7 separate regions of the Homo sapiens genome follow, and all the other regions are linked to region 1. The links are contacts of gene promoters, found by promoter capture Hi-C in blood cells and fetal thymus (Javierre and others, 2016). All regions are on one chromosome and are shown on one strand. Each heading gives the region's core, a stretch centred on a gene start or on the middle of the fragment in contact. The rest is flanking DNA. Distances are from core to core; before and after follow the strand shown.

Region 1 (2,770 bases), core at 70-2,569:
GCCTGGGTGACAGCGAGAACCTGACTTGAGGAAAAAAAAATAATCCAGTACAGAATGACACGGTCATATCAAATTGGCATGTAATAGAGACCCCATCTTGAAACTTGCTACTATATTGTCTTGTGCGTTGATAGCATATTATATTAATGCCGAACACATTAGTGACGCCGAAGTAGCTGGTGCCTAAATGGCTTAAACGCGGAAAAACCACATACAGATGATGGAACAAAAACTGGCCAATCAGATTATAGAGCGGGCTTTTTAAAATATAAGAAGCTTCTTTGTAGCTAGGCGTCTGACAAAAAGCTTGACACCAACTTAACAAAAACCAACGGCTGGAATTCATACTCTAATAACAGACTGCATGGGTAAACTACGTGGGGAGTCCAACCAACACCCTGGACTCTTGCTTGCCTTGCGTTACTCGATTAGGGTTGAGGGAGAACTGCCCGAGATTTTTCGAATGCAAGGAATCTTGCTGCCTGATCTAACATGTTGTGCACAGCCATTTTTTAGAGGTCTCTGGGTGGCTCTGAAAAGAGCCTTTGGGGCTTTGTTGCGGTTTTCACACGCCAGCTTCCTACTTCTTTTTGGCAGCCGCCTTCTTGGCCTTTGCAGCTTTAGGTTTTGCTGCTTTGGGCTTAGCGGCTTTGGGCTTTGCCGCCTTCGGCTTAACTGCCTTGGGCTTGGCAGGACTCTTGGTTGCCTTTTTCGGTTTGGCAGCGGCCTTGGCCTTCTTAGGGCTCTTCGCCACCTTTTTGACGCCAGCCGCCGCGGGCTTCTTCGCCTTCTTCGGAGTCTTCTTCACTGCCTTTTTCGCCCCTGCAGCCTTCTTGGCCTTCTTAGGCGTGGCCCCCGCGGGCTTCTTAGCTTTAGCGGCGCCTGCCTTCTTGGCTTTGGGCTTGGCTTCCCCGGAGGCCGCCTTCTTGTTGAGTTTAAAGGAGCCAGAAGCACCAGTGCCCTTGGTCTGCACCAGGGTGCCCTTGCTCACCAAGCTCTTGAGGCCCAGCTTAATGCGGCTGTTATTCTTCTCCACGTCGTAGCCACCGGCCGCTAAGGCCTTCTTAAGGGCTGCCAAAGAAAGGCCATTGCGCTCCTTAGAAGCAGCCACAGCCTTGGTGATCAGCTCTGAGACTGGGGGCCCCGTCGCTTTGCGCTTAGCAGCGCCGGCGCCGGCAGCCTTCTTAGTTGCCTTCTTCTTAGCCGGGGATTTCTCCACCGGCGCTGGGGTGGCTGTCTCGGCAGGAGCGGTTTCCGACATGGTGGCAAGAAACTGCTAGAAGAGAATAAGCTCGAAATCTAAAGAGCAGGTTTTGCGTTGCTGCTATGCTCGGGCCCCGGGCTTATATAAGCCGGCGCTGCCCTGTGATTGGTGGAGCGTCCAATCCACCGCCCTCTGGCCGCCGCCGCTCGCGGTTGGACTCCCAAATTGTGTTTGTTAGTCCTCAAAATTTGATTAAATGCTTAAAACAATGGTACAGAATTTGGCACTTTGAAGCTCCAAAGGAGGAAAACAGCCTCCAGGTTCACATACTTGTTTGTGTTTTCAAGAATCTTGTGCAATTGATGAAAGATATTTTAAAAAATCCCTTCAGCTTTTCATAAGAATCCATTGGGCTGAGGGCATCATGTTAGTTAGTAGCGTGTCGCGATAAATTTCTACTAAGTATCCAGTGAAAGTTATTTTTAAAAATTTGCCCATGAGTTCATGCTTTGATTTTTGCAAGAGAAAAGACACTGGGTTCCTTGGTTTGGGCATGAAGTTTGTTTCTAACTGTAGCAAGTAACACAGGCACAGGACAGCTGGTTGCCTACAGCCCCAACTTAACCACATAGACTTGACTTTACAAACTGGTTCTGTGTCCTAGGAGTTTCCATGTGCTAATGTCTTTACAGAATGGGATTTTGCAGCTTGGAAGAGTTCCACAGTCAGAGTGACTTCTTCTGCATTGCAGCACCAGTAATACAAATCGCTTTGACTTAAGGATCTAACTACTCAGATTCACATTCAAACTTAAATGTGTTATGTTTTCTAATTAGAGTGTTTTCTCTTTTTAGTTCCTGGGCAAATCCATTAAAAAAGGGGAAGAAAAATAATATAGATAATTCAGTTTAGAGAAAACTCAAACTTGTGGAAAATTATTCAAGAGCTCCCAGTGATCCTCAAATGCACAAACTGTTTAGGTGGCCCAGGACACTGTCAGGTTTTCGAAATGTTCTCACTGCTCCCCCTGAATCTCCACCCACATTTAACAAGCTGCACCATCAGGAATACTCTCTTCTATGAGCAGCCAGGATACATCAATATGGGTATTTTTGTGTGTTTTAGCGCTAATATTTTAGAAGAATATCTGGCTATTGACTGTGAAAAGGTTGGATTGGATATTGAGCGACTTCACATTATAGAGGTTCAGAGGAACTCAGGAAAACATAGGCAAATACACTGAGGTTGAAATAAATGAAGTTTACAATTTATGGGAGGTGGAGGGGATTGGACAGGATGCCTGGATGATAAAAATGATCAAATGATGATTTGGATTCCTAATGAAATCAACAGTCACTTATTTCTCATTCTTGAAATGCTGTGCAAGAAAATTTAAAGTAGCCAATGCACTTCATCTTCTAAGAACTCCTGGAGAAGTTGGCAGACTATGGCCAAATCTGGACAATGGCTTTTTTCTGTATGGCCCTCAAGCTAAGAAGTGTCTTTATGTTTTAAAAGTATTGTTAAAAAAAAAAAAAACAAAAACAAAGGCTGGGCACGGTGGTT
Region 2 (2,770 bases), core at 121-2,620, 1.6 Mb before region 1:
ATACAAGAATTGCATTTTTTTCTAACATTACCTGGACGTGGGAAGCAAGACCACACTCGCGCCAAAAGCAAGACCTGCTTTGCCACGCGGGCCTACAGTTGCCAGTAGGGCTAATACACCGCGTCCTCCGCAAATACAGCTACTCCGAGCGGGTTGGACCAGCATGCTAGTGTTACCTGGCGGCAGTGCTAGGAGGTTAAGAGTAGGCAGAAATAAATGAACAAGCAAGAGAGCCCCTGGGAAAATAAGTCCTGGAGACGCTGGCCACTGACAGAAAAAGACAATGGGCACACTTTTTATTTTGAGACGGAGTCTCGTTCTATCGCCCAGGCCGGAGTGCAAGTGGCGCGATCTCGGCTTACAACTTCCGCCTCCCGGGTTCAAGTGATTTTCTACCTCAGCCCCCAAGTAGCTGGAATTACAGGCGCGCGGCACCACGCCTGACTAATTTTTGTATTTTTTTTTAGCAGAGATGGGGCTTCACCATGTTCTTCAGGCTGGCCTCGAACTCCTGACCTCGTGATGCCCCCGCCTCGGCCTCCCAAAATGCTGGGATTACAGGAGAGCCACCTCGTCACGCAGTGCAGCCCCCACACTATTTACAAATACAGTACCTGAGGGCCGATATCCCAAAGCTAAGGCTTATCAAAGGCCTGCGAAAAGACAGACACCGGGCACCACCAGCAGTTGGCCATTCTCAACGACCAGCTGCACAAGATCGTGGGCCGGAAGCACCTTGGGCATGCCACGTACTGCTCACAACCAGGACGGGATGTGCTCAGGAAGTCACCTCAACGCTAAAGTAAACTAAAGCATTTACACCACATCCCTGTGTCAGAAATAAAATTTTTTCAGGGCCACTTTTAAGCGCCGCGCTTTAACAGAAATCGGCCGGCCAATCACACACCACCGCGGGAATTTGAAGAAAAAGTAGGACCTGGTGGCTCAAGTAGCCTTAGCTATCCGGTGACTGTGGCTGAGACTGAGACGGAAGGATCCTTGCGCCCAGGCTGCTGGGAGCTGTTAATAACTGACCCCCAACCAGCACGACTAGGATAGACCGTGGCCGCACAACACCGCAGCACCCGCACCCCTCTCCACCCCACTCCCCCCTCCAAAAAGCTTCAGCTCTTTTGACTGAGACCTGTGGGTGGCTCTGAAAAGAGCCGTTTAAAATTTTCAAAGGGGAACGTCCCGCCAGTTTCACTTTTTCTTCGGAGCTGCCTTCTTTGCCTTTGTAACCTTCGGCTTCCCCGACTTAGGCTTGGCCGCCTTGGGCTTAGGGGCTTTGGCCTTAGCTGGACTCTTGGCAGCTTTTTTTGGCTGAGGTGTTTTCACCTTTTTCGCACTCTTGGCCACTTTCTTGGTCCCAGCAGCGGTTGCTGGCTTCTTTACCTTCTTAGGAGTCTTTTTGATGCTTTTCTTCGGGGTAGCGGCGCCAGCCACCTTCTTGGGCTTCTTGGCTGCCCCAGCAGGCTTCCTAGGCTTGGCTGCGCCAGCCTTTTTGGCCTTGGGTTTGCCTTCCCCGGAAGCCGCTTTCTTGTTGAGTTTGAAGGAGCCAGAAGCACCGGTACCTTTGGTCTGCACCAGAGTACCTTTGCTCACCAAGCTCTTGAGGCCAAGCTTGATACGGCTGTTGTTTTTTTCTACATCGTAGCCAGCAGCCGCAAGCGCTTTCTTAAGCGCGGCCAGAGAAACGCCGCTGCGCTCCTTAGAAGCTGCCACTGCCTTGGTGATAAGCTCAGATACTGGGGGTCCGGATGCTTTGCGTTTCCCAGCAGTTGCGCCTGCCTTCTTCGCCTTTTTCTTCACAGGTGTTTTTTCTGCGGGTGCAGGAATGGTAGGAGCAAGTGGAGCAGTCTCCGACATGTTTTTGTCTTCCCAGAAAAGACAATAAGTAATCTCAAACTGTCAGAACAGCATGTCCTCTACGAGGGAGGCTGAGGGTTTATATAGAGAGACGCTGAGTGATGATTGGTTCCTTGCTCCATGCGCGGCGCTGCTGGAAAAGGACTCCTCGTATCTACCGCGCTGCTGTGTTTGTTGCCCCTTAAAAAAGAGTAAAAATATAAGAAATCTGGGCATGAAATAATTAGAGACTTGGGGGAAACTGATCCGAGAGAGTTCGGGCTTCATTCCTGCCTTTGTTTCTATGCATAGTTTTAAAACCGGCATCTTGAAACTTTTCTTATTCCCCCAACTCTCTTTCAAACTTCGGTCAAATCGAGACAACTTTCATGTTTTCCTTAAAAATACTATTTCTCCCTCTTTCATTTGCAAATCTCTCTTCCAGGGCATTGTTCTGTGAATTCTTACCGTCTCAACTTTATATAGATAAACTCATTTTTATCCAAATGTGCAGGGAAATTGGGTTTTTTCGCAGGAACAATAGCACAGGCTCTCTGGCGAGCTGTTTGCATCAACCTCTAGGAATTGGCACTGAGGTAGAAAGTTCTATGTACAAGAGGGGTGATTAGTTTAGAAAAGATAGTTTAAAAAAAAAAATAGTATTTGAGTTACCAGTGTGTAAGCTGGATTTGATCTCCATATTTCAGTGGTTTAAACATTTCCAGAAAGATAAGGGTGAGGCTACATTATTCCTCTTACAGAAAAAAAAGTCCTAAGTAGAGTTACCAACCTTCTCTTAAAAGTTAGGATCATGGATTTTTCCGATCTAGAATGGGCATTAAAGATCAACTACCACATCCCCAAAAAAGAAAACTGAACCAACAAATAATAGAATGGCAGGCCAACATCATTTTGGCAACTG
Region 3 (2,770 bases), core at 173-2,672, 1.6 Mb before region 1:
TCCCTCCAGTCTCCCGTTCCATGGTTGCACGTACCTGGAGGGCACCTACACAGTTTGTCCATCTCCTGTAAAAACACAAGCATACCCTCATCCCCACATCAGCAAATCCACTGGGCCTTTCCTTTGTCCTTCTTCTGGGGATTTCCATAACACCTTTGGATAAACTTGCCTCTTTCCCTCTAACACTTGCCAATGTTGTTCTGCTAGAGTCTTACCATCCATACCAGGCATCAAAAAATTTAAAGTAAACAAGACTAAATGTAATTTTGTTTAAGGTGGTAGCTGGTCTCCTATTCCCCCTTTTTTTCTCAACATACGCTGTAGTGTTTGATGTGCCCGCTCTATAATGCCTTGTCCTTGGGGATTGTAAGGAATTCCTGTTTTATGAATGATTGCCCATAACTGTAAAAAATTTTGAAAAGCATGACTAACATAAGCAGGTCCATTGTCAGTTTTTAATTGTTTAGAGACCCCCATATGGGCAAATGACGACAAACAATGCCATTGGACATGGCCAGCAGTTTCCCCTGTTTGACATGTGGCATGTAACATATTGGAGTAGGTGTCTATAGTCACATGAACATAGCTAAGTTTGCCAAAGGCTGCTGTATGTGCAACATCCATCTGCCAGATTTCATTTGGAGCCAAGCCTCGTGGGTCGCATCCTTCCACGGGTGCAACACCAGGGACATGCTGACAAGTGGAGCAGGCTTGCACAATAGCTTGAGCTTGACTGCAAGGCAGATGAAACATATGAGTAAGGGCAGAGGTGTTTTGATGCAGTAATGCATGGGAAGCTTGGGCTTGTTGGAATACAGAACCAATTAATTTATCTGCTTTATCATTACCTTGAGATAGTGGTCCAGGAAGTTGCGTATGAGAGCGAATAGGAGCAGCACAAGAGAGAATAGCTTGCTGAAGTCTTAGAAACAAATTAAGCAGCTCTGGTTCTAGGGTGCCCTTAATAGTGGCAGTCTCAATGCAACTAGCTGCATTTACAACATAGGCTGAATCACAAACAATATTAATAGGAGATAAAGCCGTGAGCTCTAAAACCTGAATAACTGCGATTAACTCTGAGCATTGAGCTGAAACTCCAGAGATCTTTATTGTTTGAGTATGTTTAGTTGCATAAATAGCTGTGCGGCCTTTGTAAGAGCCATTGGTAAAATATGTCTTTCCACCTGGAATGGGCTTGTGATGGGTAATTACAGGGAGGATAAAAGGGTGAACTTTATAAAATTGCAAAATCTTGTCTGATGGATAATGGTTATCTATTATTCCCACAAAATCTGCAAAAGCAATTTGCCATGCAGTCGACATTTCCCATGCTGCGGCCTGTTGTTGGGAATCCAAGGGAACAATAATTTTATCAGGATCATATCCCGTAAGCATTTTTTACCTGTGCCTACCTATTGTTATAAGTTGAGTAATTAAAGAAAGATAAACTTGCAAAGATTTCACTGTCAGATTGAATAAAAAAAAAAAAAGCCTTTATATTACCATTACAGATTTGTCTATGAATTGGCCTAAAAATCCTGATGGAGAATGGGGGGTAGGAAGAATAAACAAAAGCAAAGGCTTTTGTGGCTGTAGCCGGGAGGCATGTTGTTGCTGAAGGATCTGTTCTACACGCTGTCACTCAGCTTCTGCCTCGTTAGTAAGTTGCCGAGGAGAATCTAATGAAGAATCTCTTTGGAGGGTTTGATAAAGGTGTGTGAGTTGGTAGATGGCAATACCTAGCATCAGGCACAGCCAATTGATATCCCCTAATAATTGTTGGAAGTCATTCAGAGTTTGTACCCTCTCCCTACAGAGAGTTACTTTCTGAGGCCGAACACTTCTTCCAGTAACAATAGTACCTAAGTACTGGTATGGGGAGGTTGTTTGCACCTTTTCAGGAGCTATTTTGAGATTCCATGCAGTCAAGACTCATTTTATTTCCCTGAATAACTGATGTAACATTTGATCTGTAGGAGCGGCCAAAAGAATATCATCCATATAATGAATGATGTAGGCATTGGGAAATATATTGCGAGGCTCCTTTAAAGCTTTTCCTACAAAATGCTGACATAACATAGGACTGTTGAGCATGCCTTGGGCTAAAACTTTCCACTGAGAGCGAGAGACAGGCTCTCTTTGATTAATAGAAGGCACAGAGAAGGCAAATTGAGGCTTATCCTTTTTGTGTAATGGTATATTAAAAAAAAAACTCTTTAAGACCTATTACTACAAGAGTCCAATCTCTTGGAATGGCTGCTGAGGATGACAGACCTTGCTGTAATGCACCCACTGGTTTAATCTGTGCATTTAATAGCTCTCAAATCATGTAGCAGTTGCCATTTTCCTGACATTTTTGGATCACAAATACAGGTGAATTCCAGGGGCTGACTATTCTGTATGTTCTGCTTCCAGTTGCTCTCTCACTAGCTGATGGAGTTGCATCAGTTTCTCCTGTGATAGGGGCCATTGATCCACCCACACAGGTTTGTCAGTCAGCCACTCTAGCGGCAAAGCAGTGGGTGGAGGAGAAATACCAATGACCCCCACCAAAAATCCTGATGACCTAGCCCTTTTCTGTTTTGTCCAGTTATTGATATTGGATCAGGGTTTCCCTGCAGGGGCTTTCCTAAGCCTTTTCCACTCTGAATCCCATTTTCTTTAACATTTTAAATCCTGGATTATCAATAGTTTCCTTTTTAAGTCTCATGTCCCATGCTGTCAGTAAATCTCGGCCCCATAGATTAACAGCTATATTTGCAACATAAGG
Region 4 (2,770 bases), core at 150-2,649, 1.6 Mb before region 1:
AGAGAGTAGCAGTCAAGCTCTTCAATACTGGCTTGATCATAAAGGAAGATACACAATGGAAAACTAGTTTTAAAAAGGTGAGGCAAGAGATAATTTTCCCAATCCAAAAGGTACCAGGAATTGCTCCCAATACAGCACTTCCTGACCAAGCAAAAGAAGGTGTCTGCAAAATATCAGTCATAGCATTAGACCAGCTCCAATTAGGGCTTATTCTGCCCTGAGGTCTTTACAGTGTTTAACAGTGTGGTGGCCACACTTCCTGTGTAAACTCCTCCCTTTGAATGTTGGCTGGATCTAGTGACCTGCTCCTAACCTACAGAATATAAAAAATGTGATAGGATATTACTTTCATGATATCTCATGTGAGATATGTGTCTGTTGTTTTAAGCTGCCAATTTGGGTGCAATTTGTTATACAACAGATAACTAATACATGCAGGAAGGCCTGATCAGCCAGAGAGCAGTGGATCCTATGGCTGAAAGGGAGTATAGTTGAGAATGTAAAAATACAAGACATCATTGCCATAAATTTGCCAAGTCTGAGTTCAGATGCTAATCATTACATCATAGACCCTTTCCATAAGATTCTCCTATTGAAAGACTTGTGTATAAGCTTGGTGTAAATCTATACATTATCTTTTTTAAAAAAGCCATGACCAATAGATTAAATCTAAAGAGCATTAACAAATGCCTGCTATTTATTAATAAAGGGTATGGTAGGCTAAATAATGACCCCCAAAATAGGTCCACAACCAATCACCAGAACCTGTGAATAAGTTACCTTATGTTACCTTAAGTGGTCAAAGGAATTTTGCAGATGGGATTTCATTGAAGATTTTGAGATGGGGAGATTATCTTGGATTATCTAAGTGGGTCCAATGTAATCAAGAGGGTCCTATAAAAGGAAGGCAGGAGGTTCAGAGTCAGGAAAAGAAAATGTGACTACAGAAGCAAGAAGTGATGCAAGGAAGGGGCCACTAGAAGCTGAAAACGCCAGGAAAATGAATTATCTCATGATGTCTCCAGAAGATACACAGCCCTGCTAATACTTTTATTGTAGACTTCTGATATCCAAAACTGCAAAAAAACATTTAATTCACGTTGTCTTAGCCAGGGATGGTGGTGTGCACCTGCAGTCCTAGCTACTTGGGAGGCTGACAGGGAACGATTACTTGAACCCAGGAGTTTGAGGCTGCAATGAGCTATGATTGTGCCACTACAGTCCAGCCTGAGTGATAGTGTAAGACCCTATTTTAAAAAATAAATAGGCCGGATGCGGTGGCTCACGCCTGTAACCCCAGCACTTTGGGAGGTTGAGGCGGTCAGATCAAGGTCAGGAGGTCGAGACAAGCCTGGCCAACATAGTGAAACCCCGTCCCTACTAAAAGTACAAAAAATTAGCCGGGCTTTGTGGCGGGTGCCTGTAATCCCAGCTACTCAGGAGGCTGAGGCAGGAGAATGTCTTGAACCCGGGAGGTGGAGGTTGCAGTGAGATGAGATTGTGCCATTGCACTCCAGCCTGGGCGACAGAGCAAGACTCTGTCTCAAAAACAAATAAATAAATAACAAAAAATAAATTCATATTGTCTTAAACCACCAAATTTGTGGTAAGCAATAGGAAGCTAATAAAAAGCCACTAAGATAGTACCATGAATAGGGCTAAACAGGCAGAAAGAAGTCTACAGGGCTTTTTTCTGGAACAATTTTTAGAGGCCAGAGGAGTTCATGGAGCTCACTTTTGTTGTCATTGAGAGCCCTGGAGGATATGTTTTGAACTGTAGAGAGAGTCAACAGAAGGAATTTAGAGTCCCACCAACAGTTGGGATTTCTGTATTTGGAGTCCAGAGTGTTAACCGTTATACCATGGTATCTTTGTATAACAAAGGTTCTAGGGAAGACTTGTATACTATTGCATCTGGTCAGTTAACCTTTAAAATGGGCATAGATTCAATGTAAGGAACACTAATAGCTTCTCATAGGGAGAAAAATGCAGGTTCTCAGATGACTCAATTTGTGGTTTGCACATATTCATGCCCGAGTCCAGAGATAGCATAGAGAGCATTCGGAGTGAGCTCTGAAGAAGAAAAAAGTCATAGGTGGGGCCTCTGACACATGAACCTTTACTCATCCCAGCAGATGATTAACTTACAGTGGTCTAACTGACTTCAGGCTCCAGCAAAGCAAAGCAAAGCTTTCAAAAGAAGAGCTTCTAGGATACATGAGGGTGATGGGCAGTGGACAACTTTCAGTAGCCAGAGAAAAGAGCAAGAAGCGGGATGTTGCTCCAGAAAAGAAGTGCAAATATGTGAGACTATCTATACATGCCCAAGTGTGCTTCTCCATTTGGGTAAACTCAAGAGCAAGGTCACCAAAACTGAGACAGGTCCACTGAAATTTGAAGCCTAGGTGCTAGCCATTAAGTCACCAGGACATGGAAATTGAATCCCTACTGAAAGACTGATGTGTACTTTTAACATACCAGCTAATCTTTCAAATAATGTGGACAATGCATTAGCTTAAGGAGTTTGGATGGCGCCCCAACTGAGTACAAACGGCAGAGGCTCTAAGATGTGTACAACTGCAGTGCTGTGCAGTCCAAACATTTTAAGGACAGTGTTAGTGCTTAGAAGCAGATGGGACGCTTTAAATAGGCTCTAGAAAAGGAAGAAACTGAGATTGGGGGCTGTAAAACAAACTCTTAATCACTGGGGCCAAGATTCTAACTTACCAGAATCTGAGAAACTCTGGGCAAAAAGGCAAAAAGAGACATC
Region 5 (2,770 bases), core at 186-2,685, 1.5 Mb before region 1:
ACTCCAGCCTGGATGACAGAGCGAGGCTCCGTCAAAAAAAAACAAAAAAAAAAGGTGGTCTGAGGGCTGGGGAAGAAGAGCCAGATTTGAGAGCTAATTAGAAGGTTGAATTGAGGGCCTGCTGGGAAGGGAATCAGAGAGACATAAAAGGACAAGGGTAGTCTTCGGTCTTGGTAGCCAGTCTTCGGTTTTGGTATCTCATCAAAAATTTGGATTGTTGGAGGAAATTTAAGTTTGAGGAAAATGATGGAACATTCCTTTGGGGTTGCATTGCTTTTGAGATGCCCATGGACATGCAAGAAAAAAAAATAGGACAACTGTATATTCTGGAGCCCAGAGGAGAGAGATCTGGAGTAGAGACGATTTTCAATCCATCCGCACATGAGCAGTAGTTCATCAATCATTCCTTACCCTTCTTCTGTTCATAGAGTTGGGCCATTGATGAAATACAGAATCCCTGACTTGCTCACTAATACTCACACACACACACACGCATAGTATTGTGGTAATGGTAGTGCAGTTTTAGAACCTGGGGTTCTGCTCTTCCTTTGGAAGTGGTCTTTGAATATAATTTCAAACTATTCACAGAATATCAGATGCAGTTGTTCTTCCCCTTGTGAGAGAAGGCCCCATAAACGAAAGAGGATTTGACCAGCAAAAATATTTTTTACTTTCTAGTTTCTTTCAGAAATGTTCTTTCAGCTGGTTAAAATATTCTGAGTTTTATGAAAAGACAGAAGCCTATCTTCACTGAAGAACCTTTTGATGAATCTAGATTCTGGGGTTTTACAATGATAGTTACAATTGTACTGACATTTGTTGAGCCGTTAGTATATCGCAGGCACTGGACTTTGTCAGAAAATATAGGGGATCTCTGTGGAACATCAGTGTTATTTACTGAGGATAATTTTCTTTCTTTTTATTTTTTTAATCTATTTTTTATTTTTTTTTTACCCCCGAGACGGAGTCTTGCTCTGTCGCCCTGGCTGGAGTGCAATGGCGCGATCTCGGCTCACTGTAAACTCCGCCTCCTGGGTTCAAGCGATTCTCCTGCCTCAGTCTCCCGAGTAGCTGAGATTACAGGCGTGCACCACCACCTTGGCTAATTTTTTTGTATTTTTAGTACAGACGGGGTTTCGCCATGTTGGGCAGTTTCAAACTCCTGACCTCATGATCTACCCGCCTTGGCCTTCCAAAGTGCTGGGATTACAGGCGTGAGCCACCGCGCCCGGCCTGAGGATAATTTTCTTACTAGGCAAAAATATGAGAATTGTAAAAGTTGTTGAAACATATTCCTGATTTGCATTATAAAAAAGACCCAAAGAACATTCTTAGCGTATCATGTATGTGCCTGAATTTGAAGTTTGTTGATTGCTTCCAAGTTTTATTCTTAAGATACGAATTCAGCTATTATTAAATCCCTAATAAAAGGAGTACAATATGTGATGTATGGAAACATGTAAGACATTTAATAAGGTTTTTGGTATCTGTAGTCGTGGCCGAGTGGTTAAGGCGATGGACTAGAAATCCATTGGGGTCTCCCCGCGCAGGTTCGAATCCTGCCGACTACGGCAGTGGGTTTTTGCATCTTCAAGCAGGTTTCATCCGACCGATCGATATTTCACGTGTAAAAAGGCTTTCGATCTTTTACAAGTTAACATCAAAATGGATTTCTTGGGGATTCAGGGCAGGACAATTTCAATTTATGTCTCAGAGGTCCTCAAAATGGATTTCTCATTGCCCAAAGTAAACCTTATCTCTGATCTTTTACAAGTTACATCATAATGGATATTTCATTGTTCAGGAAGGAATCATTGTGCACAAGGATGGATTTCTCATTACCCACGAAGGAATCATACTTCATGAGTAAAACAAGTCAAAGGAACAAATAAAACTATATTTTGTTTTAATTGGAGGGTTTTGGGTTCAAAATCCTTATGATCAGAAAGAAATAAAATTTCATATATTCATGTATAGGAGGACGCGGTAATCCCAAAACGTTTTTTTCTATAGGTATAACGCCTGTCTTCGTTCGTCAGAGGGCCAGTGGCGCAATGGATAACGCGTCTGACTACGGATCAGAAGATTCCAGGTTCGACTCCTGGCTGGCTCGTTCGACTTTAGTGGAAACTTTGAGGTTTACATAAATGCCCCTTCCCTGGGCACTCATATACATTTTATGTATTTTATCATTTTAATTTTTAAAAGAATTACACAAGATGACAAAAATTTTTATAATATAGACTCCAGCTTCAGTTCACTATTGTTTTACATACATAAGAGTTTTTTTTTTTTAAATCACATCACTAAATTGATAAGTTTCAGAACTGACCAATTTTCACATTGCTTGATAAAACTTAATACAGGGGAATTTTTTTTTCTTTTTTTGAGATGTATCACTGTGTCGCCCAGGCTGCAGAGCAGTGGCGCGATCTCAGCTCACCGCAACCTCTGCTTCCTGAGTTCAAGCGATTCTCCTAGCCTCAGCCTCCAGAGTAGCTGGGATTACAGGCATGTGCCACGACACCCAGCTAATTATTTTTGTATTTTTAATAGAGAGGAGGTTTCGCCATGTTGGCCAGGCTGGTCTGGAACTCCTGATCTCAAGTGATCAGCCCGCCTCGCCCTCCCAAAGTGCTAGATTACAGGCGTGAGCCACCACGTCCGTTTGGGAAAACCTTGTGTCATTCTGTGAGAGTTACGATTGAGAATTCACAAACAGAAAATTTCTAGATAGCAAACAATTTTGGTTTCTTTTCTATCCTTTTCG
Region 6 (2,770 bases), core at 166-2,665, 1.5 Mb before region 1:
CACTGGCTTAAATAAAACAAGGATTTGTTTTCCTTTCATGAAAAACAAACTTATTTGGAAATTTACCCTGAGTACTAATATATAATAAAATATTTTAAAAGAAAAAATTTTTTAAATAAATTTAGATGGTGACAGTCCAGGGCTGATCTGGCACCTCAGATATGTCATTCATGCCCCAGCCTGCTTCTGACTTCATTCTCTGCTGTCCCAGTGTGTGGCTTCCAACCTCAAGGCTGCCTCATGGTCCCAGGGTGGGCTACTGCACCTCCGGGTCCAAAGTCCATGTTCTAGGCAAGAGGAAGAAGGAAGAAGGGAGAGTGTACCCTCACACTCCCAGCTATTTTGGCCTCCCTTTGAAGGATTTCTGGGAGAAGTACAAGCCCACAACTTTCACCTACAAACCGCTGGCTCCAACTTAGTCCCTTGGCCTGCCCTATCTTCAAGGGGGAAGAGCAGGATGCAGTACCCCAGAAAATTAGGCCTTGTCACTAAGAAGAAGGGGGCATGCACGCTGCAGAAGCAACCAGCCATCTCAAGCAGATACCACACAGCCTAAATTCAAACTGTTGCAATATAATCAAATCCCATCAGCTCCAGTCACATATTAGCTCTAGGAGATTTCTGGCTTGCAGCCCAAAAAAGTGTGTTTTGAGGTCGTAAGCCACAGGGAGAACAAGATTGTCCCATAAACTCCTTACAGAGATGGTGTACAGGAAACGAGCCTTACAGAGACCACAGCCTATGGAGTGTCTAGCTTCAGAGAATATGTACTCCACTGGCAGCGTGAGAAACAAATACCCAAGAAAATACAATATAGCACAAACCAGGAGCTGAGGGTGAATGAAGATGCTCAGAAAGATCTGCAGTAAGAATTTCCTGGGAAAGGTAAAACAATGTCAAGCAGCACTGCCTCTGGAAATCAGAAAAATTATATTATTTGATACCATATCCTAAGCCTAAATGCCAGAAGTTCTTAAAGAGGTGCAGTTTGTCTCATTTTCTTTCCATTCATACCTTTATTAGGCTCTGTAAAAAAGATCCTCCTCTTCTACGTACCTATCTACATGCAAGCAAACTGCCACAGAAGCATCTTAATTAGTGCACATCTTCCTCTCTTTGCACATTAAATTTTTTTACTTTCCTACTCCATTCTGCTAATATTTCTATTACCATGTAAAAGACACGAGACAGGTGAATATAAAGAAATACTTATATACATCCACGCACAAGAATGATTCAAATAGATAAACACAGAAACACAAACACTAAGGGAGGTAGGGCTGGAGTTTTTCCTCAACGTGTACAATTCAATGTACTTTCAGTTTTCATTTCAACGTTCCTCAGTGGTTTCTGCCCAGCAACTGATGAGAAACATCACCTCTGAGCCAATCAAAAAACTAATTCTTCCAAAGAGCGACTCTTACTGTTTCTCATGGTGAGAAGACAATATTTGCTTTCTCTTTTTCCTTTCTTCCGGATGAGAGGCTAAGCCATAATAGAAAGAATGGAGAATTATTGATTGACCGTCTTTATTCTGTGGGCTCTGATTCTCCAATGGGAATACCAAGGGGTAAGTGCAGGAAATTGATTAGAGCCTGGGCTACAACGCATGGGAGGAGCGGGGCTGAATCGCTGAGAGTGGTGAGTGGGCATGCAGGGAGAGTACTCTCCCAGAGAAAGGGGTGCAGTGCCTGTGTGTGTGTGTGTGTGTGTGTGTGTGTGTGTGTGTGTGTGTACATGTGTACATGTGCACACTCGCACATGCACATATGGGCACGTGGGAAGACGGGAGAAGTACTGCAAAGTATAAGGAACTGCAGAGGTTGGGATTTAGTGGAAGGAAAGGGAGACAACATGAATGAAGAAATATTCCAACTGCATGTTCTTAACGTATTGTGGTCAGAAAAGGGCAAACAAACAAACAAACAAAAAACCCTTAAAATCTGTTCTGGCCAACTCAAGGCATCTATTCTGAGAAATTCTGAAGAAGAAGAAGAAAAAAGAGATGTGCCTCATAGATTTATATGTAAATGTGTTTATTACAGAAGTATTTATAATATAGTAAAATCTGAACCAACATACATATTCAACAGGTGGGGAATAGACAAACAATGCATGGTTCAGTCATAAAACATGTTCCATGTAACCATTAGGAATCATAATTTTAATTAAGTGAAATTCTTTATAATTTTAATAACACTGGATCCTTATATTAAACCATTTTTGGTATCTTTTAGGGATAGTACTTGGTTTTCTTTCCATTCATCATTTCCCCAAAACCTAAAGCATGATTTCCCATGGTTACAAGCTACTACATTGTATGAATATATAATTATTGGGAGTCTCTGTGAGCCTACTCTGACTCAGAAAGCCGCTCCTAAAGAAGAAAAAAGAACAAACAAACAAATAAAAAACCCGAATTATTTTTAAAACTCTTTATTTTGGATTTTTCAGTTTCTACATTTTGTTACTGTAGATTTTACTAGATTGAACAGCCTTATCCATAAATATTTGCATCAATCTCTAAATTTTTTTCTTCAACACTAACTTTTATAGTTGGAATTTTGGGGGCAAATAATACAACATTTTAAAGGCACTTGCCATGTGTACATGGCCAAATGCTTCCAGAAACATTTCCACTTCCATTAGCAAAGTATATAACTACAGAGTATTTAAGGTTTTATTCCTTTATATTTTTTTCTTTGGCAAAATTGTCTATAGTAGAAAGAATGAATAATAAATAACCTAAAAAATAAAAGTTCTCCCTCTG
Region 7 (2,770 bases), core at 177-2,676, 1.5 Mb before region 1:
TATTTATTTATTTTGAGGCAGGGTCTCACTTTGTCACCCAGGCTGGAGTGCAGTGGCATGATCTCAGCTCACCCTAACCTCCACCTCCCAGGTTCAAGCCATTCTCCTGCCTCAGCCTCCTGAGTAGCTGGGATTACAGGCATGTGCCACCACACCCAGCTAATTTTTTTTTTTTTTTTTTTTTTGGTAGAGACGGGGTTTCATCATGTTGGCCATGCTGGTCTTGAACTCCTGACTTCAAGTGATCTGCCTGCCTCCTCCTCCCAAAGTGTTGGGATTACAGGTGTGAGCCACTGCACCAGTTCCAGACTAAGTATTTAGACATTTGAGGGGATTATTGACAACTGGGCCTTGGGAAGATTATTCTGGAAGATATCTATACAATGACAAGATTGGATTCTGTGGGGGAGGGATTATGTTCATGGGGAGGAGGTTATGTGTGCTGGTGTGTGTGTGTGGTCCTTGGACTTAACCCCACCACCTACTGGCAGAAGGTCAAGGTCAACTGAAAGTCTTTGCTCACTTCCATCTTCTGCCTCCACCAGAATACCACCTCCCCGTGGGAAAGGGTTTTTAATCCTCACTCAGTATTCTCAGCACGTCTTATCCAATAGCTTTGGAGTGAACAACAAGACCTTCATAACAGCCACTGCAACTGCTGTCACCTTTCCTTTGCTACCCCTCCCACTCCAGCCATGCCTGCTTCCCCCAAGGCCTCCCGCGCACCAGGCCCAACCTTCAAAGCCAGCAACATGAACAAGAGTCCTCTGGCTTTGGAAAGACGGCGGCTTATGTTTTCCTCCTCATGTTTCCTCCCCAGCAAAATCACTCTACATAGAGAGCCCTCTCCTCGTCTACACCAGCAAAGCCACTGACACCTTGGGGATCTCAAGGCTTTGTAAAAGAACGGAAGGAAAGAAAGAAAGAGAGAGAGAGAGAAGGAAAGAAAGAAAGAAAGAAAGAAAGAAAGAAAGAAAGAAAGAAAGAAAGAAAGAAAGAAAGAAAGAGAAAGAAAGAAAGGAAGGAGAAGAGAAGGAAGAGAAAGAGAGAAAGGAAGAGAGAGGAAGGAAGGAAGGAAGAAAAAAGAAAGAAAGCGAGAAAGAAAGAAAGAATAAAGTGAGAGAGAGACATATGAAAGAAAGAAAGAAAGAAAAAGAGAATGAGAAAGGAAAGAAGGAAGCAAGGAAGGAAGGAAGAAAGGAAGGAAGAAAGGAAAATAAAGGAAAAAAGTCTTGCTTCCAAAGACAGAAAAAGGAAATAGAAATACCTAATAATCCCAAAAGGTTATTTGCTGCTTGAGATTTTTGGGGGGTTTTTGTGTGTGTATTCTACCTAGTAACAGCTGAGAAATAAGGCTCGAGACACCATTGGTTGGTTCAGCCTCACTCGGCCAATCCTGGGCTCTAAACTGCTCAGTGGAAATCTTGGGACTTTTTGGACACCCAGAGAACAGGTCCCAGATACCGAGTCCGCAACTCCAAACATCGCGATTAATAGGAGGTGAACACAGCTTTTCTCTTCTCTTTGGGATGCTTTGTTGTCTGGTGGTGACTGTGCCCATGGGTGAGTTGTATCGGAAAATCGTCATGTGAGGATCAGAGGGGAAAAGAAAACAGAGGTTAGTTCTAGAAGGTAGGAAAGGGAGAGGAGGCGCTACAGCTCCGGGGTGGGGGCGGTAGCTGGGGGCGGTAGGTGCGGGGAGCGGGATCTGCTCTGGAGAGGAGAGGGGGACCTGGGAGACAGGAAGCCTACTGGTGGGGAGGCGCAGCCTCGCCTGGCTTTACCTCGAGTGTCCCGACCTGGGTCTCGGGGAGGGGGAAGTGGAGGGACGAGGGTGTGAAAGAATCCAGGGACAACTGAAGAAACCGGACTGTGGCCCGAGAAGTGGGAAGAGGAAGGAGGAAAACGGCCCCCTTGATCTCTGCATTGATGGCTTACTTATGGAATGTTTACGGAATCCCTCTTTCGGAGATACCTGAGCCTTGAGATGCAAGCGACTCCCAGAAGTTGGGGCACCGATGAGACCTACTTGAGTGACAGGAGAGGTTGGGCCCGACCAGCACTGAGGTGCCAAGACTCCTAGGCTGATTCTCCTCCTCTGTAACCCTAGGCCTCTGGTCTCTGCCTGCCCTGGGTGCTCATGGAACCAGCTGCTGCTCTGCACTTCTCCCTGCCAGCCTCCCTCCTCCTCCTCCTGCTCCTCCTCCTTCTCAGCCTGTGTGCACTGGTCTCAGGTAGGGATGTGTGTCACTTGCTGCTGTCACCTCTCAGAAAGGAACATCAACCCTGTAGTCTGCAAAGGGAAAGAAGGAAGAACTGTGGGGTTGTTGACTTATCCTTTCATTCTGAACATGTTCACTGAATTTATACCAGCACTGTCCAAAAGAAACACAGTGAAGCACAAAGGTCAAGTGCATATACAAGTGCAAATCTTCAAAAAGATTTTTTTAACTTTTTATTTATTTGTTTATTTATTTAAGAGAGAGTATATTGCTCTGTTGCCAGGCCGGAATGAAGCAGATGGAGAATGAGATCATAACTCACTGTAACCTGAAACTCCTGGGCTCAAGGGATCCTCCCATCTCAGCCTCCCAAGTAGCTGAGAGTACAAGCAAGGGCCACCACACTCGACTAAGTTTTATTTTTTGTAGAGACAGGGTCTCACTATTTTGCCCAGGCTGGTCTCAAACTCCTAGCTGTTAAGGATCCTCCCACTTTGGCCTCCCAAATATCTGCAATTACAGGCGCAAGACCCTGTGCCTATTCTACT

What was found. The method cuts DNA at HindIII sites, captures the fragments that hold promoters and counts their contacts. A CHiCAGO score of 5 or more calls a contact.
Region 2: a contact is called between a fragment that was not itself captured here and the fragment with the promoter of H1-5 in region 1, in 11 of 17 cell types (erythroblasts, fetal thymus, M0 macrophages and 8 more). The highest score is 34.2, in erythroblasts.
Region 3: a contact is called between a fragment that was not itself captured here and the fragment with the promoter of H1-5 in region 1, in 3 of 17 cell types (M0 macrophages, fetal thymus and monocytes). The highest score is 9.4, in M0 macrophages.
Region 4: a fragment that was not itself captured here is called in contact with the fragment with the promoter of H1-5 in region 1 in 12 of 17 cell types (monocytes, total B cells, fetal thymus and 9 more); the score reaches 13.1 in monocytes.
Region 5: a fragment that was not itself captured here is called in contact with the fragment with the promoter of H1-5 in region 1 in 1 of 17 cell types (total CD8 T cells); the score reaches 6.8 in total CD8 T cells.
Region 6: a contact is called between the fragment with the promoter of BTN3A2 here and the fragment with the promoter of H1-5 in region 1, in 14 of 17 cell types (activated CD4 T cells, naive CD8 T cells, total CD4 T cells and 11 more). The highest score is 19.0, in activated CD4 T cells.
Region 7: a contact is called between the fragment with the promoter of BTN2A2 here and the fragment with the promoter of H1-5 in region 1, in 3 of 17 cell types (naive CD4 T cells, monocytes and M0 macrophages). The highest score is 6.4, in naive CD4 T cells.

What each region holds. Positions count from the first base shown.
Region 1 is chr6:27,866,269-27,869,038 of GRCh38, forward strand. It overlaps H1-5 (H1.5 linker histone, cluster member), which reads right to left and starts at 1,320. Exons shown (of 1, transcript NM_005322.3): 1 at 524-1,320. The coding sequence starts at 1,261. The coding sequence ends at 581. RefSeq lists enhancers at 1,140-1,249, 1,510-1,579. The HindIII fragment of the contact is 3,270 bases long and covers 305-2,770 here.
Region 2 is chr6:26,233,065-26,235,834 of GRCh38, forward strand. H1-3 (H1.3 linker histone, cluster member) reads right to left here and starts at 1,923. Exons shown (of 1, transcript NM_005320.3): 1 at 1,148-1,923. The coding sequence starts at 1,869. The coding sequence ends at 1,204. It also overlaps the pseudogene H2AC9P. RefSeq lists enhancers at 246-295, 1,126-1,535, 1,449-2,436. The HindIII fragment of the contact is 501 bases long and covers 1,121-1,621 here.
Region 3 is chr6:26,290,415-26,293,184 of GRCh38, forward strand. The region is part of intron 1 of LOC124901287 (a long non-coding RNA gene); the gene reads left to right. Among named protein-coding and RNA genes, the nearest start is that of TRX-CAT1-2, 5.3 kb to the left of the region's middle. The HindIII fragment of the contact is 1,254 bases long and covers 796-2,049 here.
Region 4 is chr6:26,307,833-26,310,602 of GRCh38, forward strand. No RefSeq gene overlaps it. Among named protein-coding and RNA genes, the nearest start is that of TRQ-TTG3-1, 2.0 kb to the right of the region's middle. RefSeq lists a cis regulatory region at 2,024-2,138. The HindIII fragment of the contact is 1,578 bases long and covers 611-2,188 here.
Region 5 is chr6:26,326,100-26,328,869 of GRCh38, forward strand. TRS-AGA2-1 (tRNA-Ser (anticodon AGA) 2-1) reads left to right here and starts at 1,490; the gene lies at 1,490-1,571. TRR-ACG1-1 (tRNA-Arg (anticodon ACG) 1-1) reads left to right here and starts at 2,041; the gene lies at 2,041-2,113. The region is part of intron 2 of LOC101928743 (a long non-coding RNA gene); the gene reads right to left. The HindIII fragment of the contact is 3,995 bases long and covers 1-2,770 here.
Region 6 is chr6:26,363,783-26,366,552 of GRCh38, forward strand. BTN3A2 (butyrophilin subfamily 3 member A2) reads left to right here and starts at 1,416. Exons shown (of 11, transcript NM_007047.5): 1 at 1,416-1,570. RefSeq lists an enhancer at 1,374-1,423. The HindIII fragment of the contact is 4,055 bases long and covers 1-2,770 here.
Region 7 is chr6:26,381,682-26,384,451 of GRCh38, forward strand. It overlaps BTN2A2 (butyrophilin subfamily 2 member A2), which reads left to right and starts at 1,427. Exons shown (of 8, transcript NM_006995.5): 1 at 1,427-1,500; 2 at 2,111-2,234. The coding sequence starts at 2,141. RefSeq lists a silencer at 1,276-1,365. The HindIII fragment of the contact is 7,335 bases long and covers 1-2,770 here.